Linked DNA regions of Homo sapiens: all the other regions are linked to region 3. Evidence: promoter capture Hi-C in 16 types of primary human blood cells and fetal thymus (Javierre and others, 2016). All regions are on one chromosome and are shown on one strand. The core of a region is centred on a gene start or on the middle of the fragment in contact, and the rest is flanking DNA. Distances in the headings are between cores, read along the strand shown.

Evidence for each region. The method cuts DNA at HindIII sites, captures the fragments that hold promoters and counts their contacts. A CHiCAGO score of 5 or more calls a contact.
Region 1: a contact is called between a fragment that was not itself captured here and the fragment with the promoter of SUMO4 in region 3, in 13 of 17 cell types (activated CD4 T cells, total CD4 T cells, naive CD8 T cells and 10 more). The highest score is 16.5, in activated CD4 T cells.
Region 2: a fragment that was not itself captured here is called in contact with the fragment with the promoter of SUMO4 in region 3 in 9 of 17 cell types (naive CD4 T cells, activated CD4 T cells, naive CD8 T cells and 6 more); the score reaches 11.1 in naive CD4 T cells.
Region 4: a contact is called between a fragment that was not itself captured here and the fragment with the promoter of SUMO4 in region 3, in 1 of 17 cell types (non-activated CD4 T cells). The highest score is 6.9, in non-activated CD4 T cells.

Annotation. Positions count from the first base shown.
Region 1 is chr6:149,078,708-149,082,101 of GRCh38, forward strand. No RefSeq gene overlaps it. Among named protein-coding and RNA genes, the nearest start is that of UST-AS2, 48 kb to the left of the region's middle. RefSeq lists an enhancer at 1,266-1,385. The HindIII fragment of the contact is 6,234 bases long and covers 1-3,394 here.
Region 2 is chr6:149,095,769-149,099,076 of GRCh38, forward strand. No RefSeq gene overlaps it. Among named protein-coding and RNA genes, the nearest start is that of UST-AS2, 65 kb to the left of the region's middle. The HindIII fragment of the contact is 3,150 bases long and covers 1-3,044 here.
Region 3 is chr6:149,398,197-149,401,511 of GRCh38, forward strand. It overlaps SUMO4 (small ubiquitin like modifier 4), which reads left to right and starts at 2,066. Exons shown (of 1, transcript NM_001002255.2): 1 at 2,066-3,082. The coding sequence starts at 2,196. The coding sequence ends at 2,483. TAB2 (TGF-beta activated kinase 1 (MAP3K7) binding protein 2) reads left to right here. Exons shown (of 7, transcript NM_001292034.3): 6 at 908-988. The HindIII fragment of the contact is 27,910 bases long and covers 1-3,315 here.
Region 4 is chr6:149,016,663-149,019,729 of GRCh38, forward strand. UST (uronyl 2-sulfotransferase) reads left to right here. Exons shown (of 8, transcript NM_005715.3): 6 at 2,477-2,574. Among named protein-coding and RNA genes, the nearest start is that of UST-AS2, 14 kb to the right of the region's middle. The HindIII fragment of the contact is 2,434 bases long and covers 370-2,803 here.

The sequences.
Region 1 (3,394 bases), core at 287-2,786, 320 kb before region 3:
CCTCCCGTGTCCTTCCCCCGTGCCTGTCTGTGTCTTGATCTCTTCTTCTAAGGACCGCAATCATATTGGATTAGGGCTCACTCTAATGACCTCATTTTAACTTAATGACTTCGTTTAAGACCCTAATATGGTTTGGCTGTGTCCCCACCCAAATCTCATATTGAATTGTAGTTCCCATAATCCCCACATGTGAAAGGGACCCGGTGATGGATAATTGAATCATGGGGGTGGTTACCCCCATGCTATTGTTCTCGTGATAGTGAGTTCTCATGACATCTGATGGTTTTATAAGGGGCTTTTCCCCTTTTGCTGGGCGCTTCTTCTTGCTGCTGCCACCATGTGAAGAAGGACATGTTTGCTTCCCCTTCTGCCATTATTGTAAGTTTCCTGAGGCCTCTCCAACCATGCTGAACAGTGAATCAATCAAACCTCTTTCCTTTATTAATTATCCAGTCTTGGGTATGTCTTAATATTAGCAGTGTGAAAACAGACTAATACAGATCCTATTTCCAAAAATGCTCACATTCTGAGATACTTGGTTAAGACTTTCATATATGAATTTGTGGGGGACACACAATTCAGCCCATAACACCCAGACTATAGCAGAAAAGTTAGGGCAGAGGAACTGAATTCCTACTAGGAGAGAAGCAAGCCTCAAAGTGCAGATTCCTATAGTTGCATTGGGGCTCTGGAGCAGTGATCTGGTCCATTCCCTCATTTTACAGACAAGGAAAACCAAGGTCCAAAGAGGAGACACAAATATGTCACATGCTAACTTTGCCCATTGAGGGTTCCCTTAACTTTTGAAGCAGCTACCAAATTAAAACTTTAAAAAGATGATATAGCCAAAGCCCATCTACAGACCTAGGATCCAGAATGAAAGTGATGAGGCACTTTCAGCCACACCCACTGCCACCTGCTGTACTGGAGCAGCCTCACCATAGGGCTCTCCTGGGAGCCGGGGCTTTGGAACTCGCCTTTCCACAGAGGGAGGGGAGGCCCTATTGGTTTTCAGTCACTGAAGTCCTCAGAGACAAATCCCAAATAAATATTTTATTTTTAATTTTTCTGTCTGCTCAAAAGACACAGAGAGGTTCTTGTTCCTTGGTAAACAGACTTGGAGCATGTTTGCCCATCTCAGATTACAGAGTTTTATTTCTCTTAAAGGCAAAATGAAGATTCTTGTCCTACTTCCTGTAACGAGTTTCAGATGGACCCACCTCCAAAAATATAGTCAAAATGCAGTTCATAAAACTAGGGGAAGTCAAGTACAGACATGTCCCAGGAAAGCAGAACCAGAGGAGAAGCAGACCCCGGGCACTCGCAGGACTATTTGACTCACTGGAGAATTCCCTTCTGCCAGGGCAGGCTTGGCTCACTGCTCCAAGCACTGCAGATTCCCAAGGAACACCCAGGCCCACAGATGTTCATGGGTCACAGAATTGTGAACTGACCACTTGTGCATTTTGGATTTCAACTTGTAAACATGGGGATTCCCTTTTTACAAAAAGAAAAAGGAGAGGATGAAAAATCACCATGCAAAGGAAAGTTGAGAGCTAAGTTTTTCCTTTTGGAATCTTGGCATGCGCATTTAGCTATCTTCAATCTGGCTTTCACCAGACGCTGTGTGCTTTGAGCAGGGGTGGAGCAGTCTGCCCTGTGCCGCTCTGCCAGAACATTCAGACTTGACCTGTCACAGGCCTCTTATTCCAGTCAGGAGCAGACACGGCCCAGGAGATGGGCCCTGCCAGACACAGCAGGCTGCCTTTGAGGTGCAACCAGAGAGGCAGTAAAAACCTGGGAGGAGAGCATTTGACTGACTAGGCTGGGGGCTGCCCACCAGTCAAGTCCCCGAGTTCAAGTCCCAGCTGTTCTGTTTCACTGGGCATCAGTGTAAATCATTTGACCTCCATCGGTCTGAAATCGACTCAGCTGGAAAACATTAGAAAGAAAATAAAACATCTACTGAAAACCAAGAGCTGCTTCTGGGATGAACCATTTCCCACCCTTGACCCCTAAATGCTAAAAGACTGAGCCACAACACTTCCTAAGCTGATGAAAGGTTTGTTCTCACCACAGAACACTGTATCCCCAGCAAGAGGGCATAGAATTACATATAGTCATTCCAGGTTGCCTGAAGCCCCCGTTCCTTCATGTCTGCAAGTGGCATTGCCCAGTATGCTGTGAGTCGATGGACAGCAGCATTTCTGAAATGTGAATTGAGCTCCCAGGAGTAGGCACATCCTCCTGGGCATGAGATAGAGCAAATGCAGCAAGGACCTGTCCTGAAGAAGCATCGGTCCCTTCCTCCTGGCCTGGTTTCCACTGTTCTGTTTACTGTGCCATTATCCAAGATAAACCAGTCTGTGGAATTCCACTTTTCTCAAGCATTCTTTGGGACGAGTTTGTCTAGCTGCAAGTTAGAAGATTCAGCTCTAATTCACAGCTTGTACTAAATACAGGCTTCCTCTAACTTATTTAAACTACTGTGTGTATCTGTGATCCCATGACTAATGGTAATAATGAGCCTAAAACATCCATGTGAATTAATACAGGTTGTGCACAAAGAAAAGTGTTAGTAAAAATTGGAAACCTGGCAGGACGGGGGTACTAAACTTCTTGGAGGGTCATTTCTCATTCTCAGAAGTAGTGTTACTGCTGTGATGTGGGAAAAATCTGGCAATGATTTTGTGGGCTGGTGATGTTTCCAGCATGGTTGATTCCCCATAGGACTGCCATGTTGAAAAACTTTAATGTGTTGTATTACTAATCTTTCAAATGCAGAAGAGAGTTAAGACACTGACCACAAACTTCCTTATAGTCACCTTAAGTTTTGCACATATCAAATTTACTATTTGCTTTTTCTCCTTTTGGCACACTTTCCTGTATGGTGTCCATCTTTGGAAACTAGTGAAATTCTAGTCCAATGTGTATTCTCAAAGGATAATTCATGAACCAAGTGTGTGAGATAGGCATGAAAAAAAATCGTGTTAAATAATTTTGGAAGTGCTGCAGTTCATAGTGTGGTGTTACACAGTATGGTAGTATATTCAGAGTATACTAAGGACTCATGCATACTGAAGCATTTTTAAAAATTAATTGATCTTTTGTTGAATTTCAAATTTCTCAAAAGTATTTGCCATGAAACCCTTATTTGCATAAGACCCATTGATATCCTGTGGAACTAGTGTTCTGGAGACTACACTTTGAGAAACAATGCTTTAATGCAAATTATTGGATTACATTTTTCCTCATTGGAAGACTTGTTTTCCTCTTGCTGTGGTTCAATTTTGGTCCGTGCATCGTGCTTGAAGAAAATATATTTGCATCAGATGACGAACATGTTGATAAAAAGAAGATGGGGACAAATAACATTTTTAGAAAATAACAAGGA
Region 2 (3,308 bases), core at 220-2,719, 300 kb before region 3:
AGCAAGCATCAATGACCATATGCTTGGAAATGCTGCGTGGGATGATAAAGGTTTATTATTGTTCCCAGACAGGTCCAGTGTAGTTAAAAATGGTGGATGCCAGCTGTCTATTGATGTATATACTTTGTATAGAAAACATTCAAGGTCAGAGTGGCTGGTGCCCTGAGTAGAGATAGTGCTTTCCAGTGTTAAGGAGGCTTAAAGCACGATGGGATAGATCTGTGTGGTTTTCCCTTCATGCATAAAGCAGAAAGAAGTGTGTTCCTGTCCTATCTCCCCACACATCTCCCCCACCACTACCCCTGCACACACATTCTTTCCCAGCAGCCTGCACCTTCAGAAAGGGGAAATTCTCATCACACATTCAACTCTTAAAGAAGCATAAGGAAATGACCAGTCTTAAGGACCCTCCAGGGACACTGTTTCTCCTGTCCTTCCCTTTACTGCTGTGTCTATTCTCTTCAGCCAAAGGGTGTCATGGAAAAAAAGAGAAGGGGCACCCAAGCCAGACTCTCAGTCATTAAAGAAGCACCAATCATTGAGATTGTAAGAACTAAGCCAATACAATGACCATTCAAGTAAGATCTTAGGATTTCTGGTGACTGTATACTCAGCTATGTGCTGTTTAACTGAGAATCTCAATGATCCAGGTGTCTTTGTCCATGTTCAAAGTGAAGAGCCTGGAGGTTACAGATAATGAATCCCCATTGATCCAAAGTTATTGTGGATAAAATCATTCTAGCTAATTGTCTATTCATTCTAATAGCTATTTACTCAGTTCTATTAATATTGCCCTCAGAGTTTGCATTCATGTCTGGCTCCCCCAGCTACCCTGTGAACTTCTGCAGGGCTTATTCCTTCATTCACCTACCAGTGGCTACTCAGAACTTCACATTTGGAGACATTCCAAAAATGTGTATTACCTCCCACAGCTTCTTGCCCTTAAGGCCCTGCTCCTTCTGGTAAGCCCAAGGTGCCATTTTGAGAATTTAACACTGTGCTATGACCCACACTTGGTTTGAATTCAGGCTGACATGGTGGCAGCTGCTGCCCAGCCAAGGAGAGACAGGGAAACCAGGCTATTTTATGCACATCCAGGAGAATACTCACTGCCCTGCAGTGGGCTGCTATGAAACTGAGATGTGAGTAGATTACACTCCCCACAGCTTCTGGCCTATGCTGCTTGCCTGGGATGGATACCATCCTCCCTGGTCCCAAGCCCAAGACACTATTTTAAGACATTAATGCTGGGCTTGAGACTTTTGGGCTGAGCTTGGGCTAACATGGCTGCAGCCACCACCTGGCCAAGGAGGGACAGGAAAACCAGGTTCCCCTATGCATACCTAAAACAATATCCACCACTCTGCTATGGGCTGCTATGAAACTCAGACTTGAATGGGCTGCACTCCCCATAGCTTCTTGCACACACTGCTTGCCTTAGTGGGCCCTCATATTCTCTTGTCGCAAGCCCACAGCTAGCATGATTTTTAGAGTTTAACCCTGGGCTGTGCCCCACCCTCAGACCAAGTAGAGGTGATGAGGCTGCAGCTGCCACCCAGCCAGGGAAGGGACAGGGGAGACCAAGCTCCCTTAAGCACACTTAGGACAATACCCACTACCCTTCTACAGGCATCTGTGGGGTGGAGGACTGGCTCACCCAACCTATTGCAGCTTCTAGCAATACCTATTTGAACTGCTTGGGTCCCAGTGGGTTGCTCCACCACTGCTACTGCCATCACCCACATGACACCAGCTTCCCAGGGGCCTGAGAACCCACCCACACACCTAGCCCACTACTATTACTACTAGCTTCTAAGCAAGCCACCTGGAGCCCCAAGCATCAGTGCTCCAGAGTCCACTAACACCAGAGCCAGTGCCTAAAAAGAGGCACATTTATTCCACTGCTGATACTTGGGCCTGAAGACTGGCTCAGTTGGTGTCCAAGTCCCCAGCAAAACTTCACCACAACCTCAACTAATAACTGTACCCTAAGTCACCAAGGAAATCACAGATACCACTGATACTGTATATTGCCAAGGAAGTCACACAAAGATCACAGTACCACAGGCAACCAAAATCAAAGTCAAAGTAGTTTACTCAATCAACATACATACATTCCTAAGAAAAAATTCTCCCCCACAAAAGCAATTTCAAAAAAAATGAAACAAGCAACTACTATACTAGATGAGCAGATATCAACAGAAAGACACAGGAAACATGAAAAACAGGGAAATATGACATCATCGAAGGACAATAAGAATTGCCCAGCAACAGATCCCAATCAAAACGAATTCCCCAAAATGCCAGATAAAGAATTCAAAATATTGATTTTAAAGAAGCTCAATGAGATGCAAGATAATCTGAAAACCAATACAAAGAAACTAGAAAGTCAACTCAGGCTATGAATGAGAAACTTACCAAGCAGGCAGATATCTTTTTAAAAGGCAGAAATTCTGGAACTAAAACATTTATTGAAGAAAATGCAAAATACATTCAAAAGATTCAATAATAGATTACACCAAGTAGAACACAGAATCTCAAAACTTGAGGTCAGGTCTTTTGAAATAATCCAGTGAGACAAAAATAAGGAAAAAAGAATTTTAAAATGAACAAAGTCTTCAAGATGACTGGTACTATATAAAACAAGCAAACTTATGAATTATCACTATTCCCAAGGAGGAAGAGACATCAAAACGTTTAGAAAACCTATTTAAGAAAATAATTGATGAAAACTTCCCAAGTCTATCAAGACATTTAGACATCGAGATCCAGGAAGCCCAATGATCTCCAGGTAAATACATTGCACAAAGGACTTCATCATGGCATATTATATTTAGAATGTCTAAAGTCAAAGTGAAAGAAATAATTTTAAAATTAGCAAGAGAAAAATTGTCTAGTCTCCTATGAAGGAAACACCATCACGCTTTTCAGCAGAAACCTCACAGGCCAGAAGAGAATGAGATTGCATTTTCAAAGTACTGAAATGAAAAAAATAAAATAAAATAAATAACTGTCAGTCAAGAATATTATATCCTGCCATAATAAGCTTCATAAATGAAGGAGACATATAGGCTTTCCTAGACAAGCAAACGTTGAGGGAATTTGTCACCACTAGACCCACTCTACAGGAAATGTCCAAAGCGATCTTAAATATGGAAACAAAAGGTCAATATTCACCATCACAAAACACATGGAACTGTAAAATGCACTGTTCTTATAAAACAATCACACGAAGGAGGAAAAGAAACGAATCAAATGACAACATGATAGAATTTCATCCAACCACAAGGACAACAAGACAGAGAAAA
Region 3 (3,315 bases), core at 816-3,315:
AAGAATATATTTAAAAAGTCACCCCCATCTCAATGGCACTATCTTAACTGATAAAATATAGAAGATAGTAAAAATAAGGTTTATACATTCTTTAGACAATGATAGTTTCTTATACTTGAGCTATTAATGACAAGCAATGTTTTCTTATAGTAAATAATGTTTACAATTTAATTCAGTTCCATAGAGAACTAAAAGGAAATGTTATCACTTAAACCTAATTCTGAAGTTGGATAAATAATAAAAAGATATAAAATGGAAAAGACAGGAAGGGGAAGGAATCTAACCAAAAGAGAAGTCTTTAATCACACTTGGGACTGTGTTCTAGAATCTGTTCAACTGGAAGATGATTATTTTTATTTTTATTCTTTTTAAATGTTGATTAAGCTATTTATCTTTAAACATTCATAGAAAAATACCATAATTTAACTCTAAAAAGTTGGTGCTGTTCTAGAAACTACAATCCTTGAACTTACTCTTTTTGTGTAAAATTTTAACCATTCTATTACATAGTGCAAGGTTTTTATATTTACTTGAGGTAAAGCTGTTTAGTTACTTAAGTCCATGTTTGATCGTTTAAAATTACATTTTAAATTGTGAAATTTTAAGTTATTTTAACTTGCCACATAGAACAGGGATCTACTTCTACTTCTATTAATGTCTTACCAGCATTAATTTGACTTCTTTCACAGTTTACCACTTACCCGTGTTTATGAGTACTACATTATACCTAAGATAATATATTTGAAATATGTTTTGAAATCTTACATATAATTCGAGGTTAGAGGGGCAAAATAAATGAAAAGCATTTCTTATAGCGTGTTTATTTTTAGAAAGAAATACTTGTTTTAAAAAGTAAAGTTGTTTTTGAGCTATAAGCATTGATATATTTACTTTTTATATATTTCAGGACCACATTTTAACCCCAGCGCTATTCATAACTTTTATGACAATATTGGATTTGTAGGTCCTGTGCCACCAAAACCCAAAGGTTAGTGTATCCATTAAATGTGAAAACTGTTACTTTTGAAAAGCAAAATTTTAGAAAATTTTTCCTGTTCAGCAACCTTCCTCTCTAGAATTGCTTCAAACTTTGGCATTCTTAAATGAATTCATTAAGAAGATGTTTGCTTATTTTCATTTACATGCTTGGGGTTGGGAAGGATGCAAAGATGTAATATTCTTAGCTTTTTAAAAGTAATATGCACGAGCTTAGGAAACACTATGTACTCCCAACCAATAATAGCAAGTCTTGGTTAAAAAACAATTACTAAGTACAAAAATTTGTATCATTTAAAACTTTAGACAAATGATAAGGAAGATACCTTAGGGAAGTTCCCCCCCCCCATGAGTATTTAGTTTAATTTATATATAACTTTAAGTAATCAAAATACCCTAAATTCCAGGTGAATAGTTTTCTACCTTCTATCATTTTACATCATTGATATTCTCAGAATATATGCACACCAAACTAAGACATTTCAAAGTATGTCTGTGTGTTTTGATCCAGGCATTAAAATGTGTGTAGAAATGGAAACAGGTACATAAATATCACTGCTGAAGGTAAAAATATAGACATATTTACAGATTAACACTTAACCGTGGTATATAATTTACTTTCAACTCTAATAAGAAAGTTAAAAGGTAAAAATGTGTTAATGGATACATAATATTAAAAGAAGAAAACTGCAAGAACACAAAAGTGTGGGAGGGTGGAGGTTGTAAAGATGCAGTAGTATTTTTGTATGCATTTGAAGTTAAGTTGTTATCAACTTAAAATAGAAGAGTATAACCAAATATAATCAAAGTAAATCACGATTAAACGTTGTCGAATAACAAGACAATAAGAGGAAAAGAGGAGCAAAACAGTTGTCAAATAGACAGGAAGCAACAAACTGCCAATAGTAAGTCCTCACTTATTAGTAATTACCTTAACTGGAAATGGATTAAACTCACCACTCACAAGGAGTTGTATGAATGGATTTTAAAAACAGGATCTGGCAGCAGCCAATGGGAGGCCCCAACAGCTCGTGCTGGCGCACACAGCGGGAGGGGAGGGAGCCCAGGATGTGCACGCACCCTCTCCCTCATCCACCGCTGTCACCTCCTGCTGCTCTTCCTGCTGCTCGTGTACTCGTTAGGTGCGGACCCGCCACCTCTTTTGTGAAGCAGCAGCTGAGGAGACTCCGGTGTTCACCATGGCCAACGAAAAGCCCACAGAAGAAGTCAAGACTGAGAACAACAATCATATTAATTTGAAGGTGGCGGGACAGGATGGTTCTGTGGTGCAGTTTAAGATTAAGAGGCAGACACCACTTAGTAAACTAATGAAAGCCTATTGTGAACCACGGGGATTGTCAGTGAAGCAGATCAGATTCCGATTTGGTGGGCAACCAATCAGTGGAACAGACAAACCTGCACAGTTGGAAATGGAAGATGAAGATACAATTGATGTGTTTCAACAGCCTACGGGAGGTGTCTACTGAAAAGGGAACCTGCTTCTTTACTCCAGAACGCTGTTCTTTAAAGACCAAGATTACTGCATTCTCAATTAGAAAACTGCAATTTGGTTCCACCACATTCTGACTACTACAGTATAGTTTTCTCTATTCTTTTGTTTCCCCCTTCCACATTCTTTTATTATACATGAAGTAACTGGTATGTGTACACAAGCATATTGCTTTTTTCTTCAAACCAAACAGCCAATGGTATGTTTTGATTGACATCAAGTGGAGACAGGATGGGAAAAAATACTGATTCTGTGAAAATACCCCCTTTATCCATTAGTGGCATGTTCATTCAGGTCTTATCTTTATATTCTAGTAAGTTATTTTGCTCTCACTGTTTTAACAACAACAAAAAAAAATTCTCACATACCTTGTTCAATTGGAGGATTTTCATGTTTTTCATTTATCATTGTAAAACCAAGGACAATTTTATAACTTTTGTGTACATAGCTGTTACATGTAGGGCAATCTGTCTTTAAGTAGGGATAAATTACTCTAAAAAAAAAAGAAAGAATCCTAGAAAGTTTTTCCTTCAAGTCAGGCTTCTTATTTAAATAAACTTTTTGTTTAAAATGAAATAAAAATAAAAACAGGATCCAATAATATACTATCTACAAGAGACTCATTTTATATTTAAAGACACACATAGGCAGAAAGTGAAGGGATGGAAAAAGATTTTATATAAATGGTAGCTAAAAGAAATCAAAAGTGGCTATAATTATATCAGAAACAATAGATTTTTAAGTCTAAAACTTGAGACAAAGATTATTATGTAATGGTAAAAGGATCAATTCCACAGAAAAATATAAAA
Region 4 (3,067 bases), core at 337-2,836, 380 kb before region 3:
TGTAGGAGGCTCTGGCGGTCTCTGATGCCCTGCTCCTCCTGTTAATGCAGGACTCTGGGGGGCTGACTGCGTATGTGACAGTTCTTTGGATGTTCCCCATCACTTTACTCCGTCCTTCTTTGTGAAATCTCGACCTCAGCAGATGAACACTGTCCTGGCCAGAATCACCCTAGGCTCTGCTTCTCACCCAGCTCCTGGCCCCCTCCCTGTTGCCACTGCTGCAGAGGGAGGCCACCAGGGTTATTGGGTCCCTCGGACTAAAGGCTCAGGTTCCAAGGGGAGGCCAACTACCAGAGGACACCCTCAAATGTGAGCAGGGCAGGGGGCTCAGAGCATCCTCAAGGCAAAGCACAGGCACCCGCCCGCACAAGCTTTGGTTTGTTTCACAGTGTGTAAATCTCTGTACAGTTTTCTCACAATAAATGTAAGATGCAGCCGGGCACAGTGGCTCACGCCTGTAATCCCAGCTCTTTGGGAGGCCGAGGCGGGCGGATCATGAGGTCAGGAGATGGAGACTATCGTGGCTAACACGGTGAAACCCCATCTCTACTAAAAATACAAAAAATTAGCCGGGTGTGGTGGCGGGCACCTGTAGTCCCAGCTACTCGGGAGGCTGAGGCAGGAGAATGGCGTGAACCCGGGAGGTGGAGCTTCCAGTGAGCCGAGATCACGCCACTGCAGTCCAGCCTGGGGGACAGCAAGACTCTGTCTCAAAAAAAAAAACAAAAAAAGTAAGATGCGTACATTGTAATAAAAGCTAACACTTCAAAAAAGGAATAAGGAAAAATTCAGTATATTCTCATCTTCCTTTATGCCAACCACCAGAAAAAACTGCTTTCAATCGTGTGCTGTGTCTCCTTCCAGATCCTTTTGTGTTTATGTAAACATGTTGATTTTTATATTGTCCTACATGTTTATATTGTCCTGTAGTCTATACTTTCATTCACTTGAAAATTTATCCAAGACTTTTCAGGATAGCACACACAGATCCTTCTCATTTTTTCCAGGTATCCAGTATTTCAGTGTGTGAATGTACCATAATTTCTCTTAAAACCAATCCCCCGTTCGTGAACATGTAAATTCTGCCATATTTTGTTGTAATAAATAAACTCATTGCAGCAATGAATATCCATATATACACACACACACACACACACACACACACACACACACACATCTGTCAGTGTCAAACTCTTCTTAGAAAGGTATTTCAGGTCTAGTGTCTTGCATTTTAATGGGTTTTCATACACAATGAGATGCTCTTAATCACCCTCACCACATGGCTGGACAGACATATGCACCCCCCTATTCACTTCTCATATGTTCCTCCCTGGAAACTGCACCTCCGCCTCTCATGGTAAACTCAAGTGCTTGAGTACTCTCAATTGTGTTTTTTGCAGATTCTGTTTATTTCCGTTGAATTTGTTATTGTAATTGTGTAATTTACTTAATTGGCATATAAACTGAAGAAGTATGAGGGGATTATTGTTTTTAAGAAAAAGCATAAATTATATTTCTCTCATTCCCAATTTGAACTAAAAAAATTGTTACTAGCTAAACACCCACACCTAAACACCTACACCCACACATGTATATCAGATACAGTAGCTTCTACCGACTCATAATTTCATCAACCATATTTGGGAGTTGTGTCCAGTCTTAATCTGCCTTGCCAGTATAGTCTCTGGAAAAACATCCTACAGCTGTTTGGTTTATTTGTAGATTGAGTTATCTTTTCTCCTTAGAAATACCTGAGAATGAGGCATGTCTTATTTAGAATCTCTAATATGATCTACCTTGATAAAAGTTGGTTTTGAGCCCTTCTGCTTACCCCCACCAAGCCATTTCAAGCTCTGGTAACGCCCTCAGAAACACCATGTCCAACCTCATATAAGAGAAATGGAAAACCTGGACGTCACAACTGTTGCCTTTGAAAGTGAGAGGGTGTCTGTATATAAACATCCTGCTACTTTTTAAGCTAATATAGTGTTAGAAGTGATTTTACAGCTCCTCTAAAATTTGCAAACTCTTATGAGACTATTGTAGGTACTTAGTTGTTGGATGCATGGATACACAGAGAAGCCCTAAATTCATGCAACAAACATTTATTAATTGCCAACTGTATACCTACTAATTGGCTGGCAACTGGTGGCGCCACCACGAAGCACAGTGGGTACCACTGTTCTCCCAAGGCCTGTGACCAAACTTAAGACTCGGAGCCACCAGGAAGTGCAGAGATGCAGTTTACTCAACAGAGCATGCACTCTCTAAAATGGCCCAGCCCTGTGTGTGCCTGGCCAGTGGAGCAGGATGCTGGGAGGCAAAAAATAAGTTTTCTCATGAAATCTGTGAATTCTCTTCATCTTCTCAAGGCGTGCCTGTGTAATTCAATCATGAATTTTACTTAAACTGTGTGGCATTTGATAGAGCCTTGCAGAGACTACAAGACATCTGACTGCTGTATTTTCTCTTCTAGGATATCAATGAGTGTATTCTTGAAAACTATCCCGAGTGCTCCAACCCCAGGTTATTTTACATCATTCCGTACTTTTGTGGACAGCATCCCAGATGCAGGTAAGGGCTAAAGCAGGGTCATGGCATGCACGTACGCACAACAAGGGCAAGAACCCCACCAGCCTGGTACTCGGTGGGAATCTTTTGTATCCCTAGTCTCTCAACCTTCTGGAATTCAGTTCCTGTTTACTATTAATCTTTCAAGATAATATTTGAGACTCCAAATGTCCTATAAATAATGAAATTTAAAAATCAGGGTCTGTAGAGGCCTCAGGAGACCACCATATAAAGCTTTGTAACTGGAACCAAACCCTTGTTTATACCTAAAACATACTTGTCACTACTCATCCCATGTTGTTTGTCTTTCTCTTTGGATAAAATGACAAAATGTCACATAAAATGTGATCGTGAAGACCAGGAGCGAACACCCAGCCTGCTCCTGTACAGTGACTGACTTAACCAACAACCTGCCCTCGTAGCATGTGTCACTGGGTCTGAGACACTGGAAGCCCACACCTCAATCCCATAGTGGATATACTTAGTAGGCAGAGAA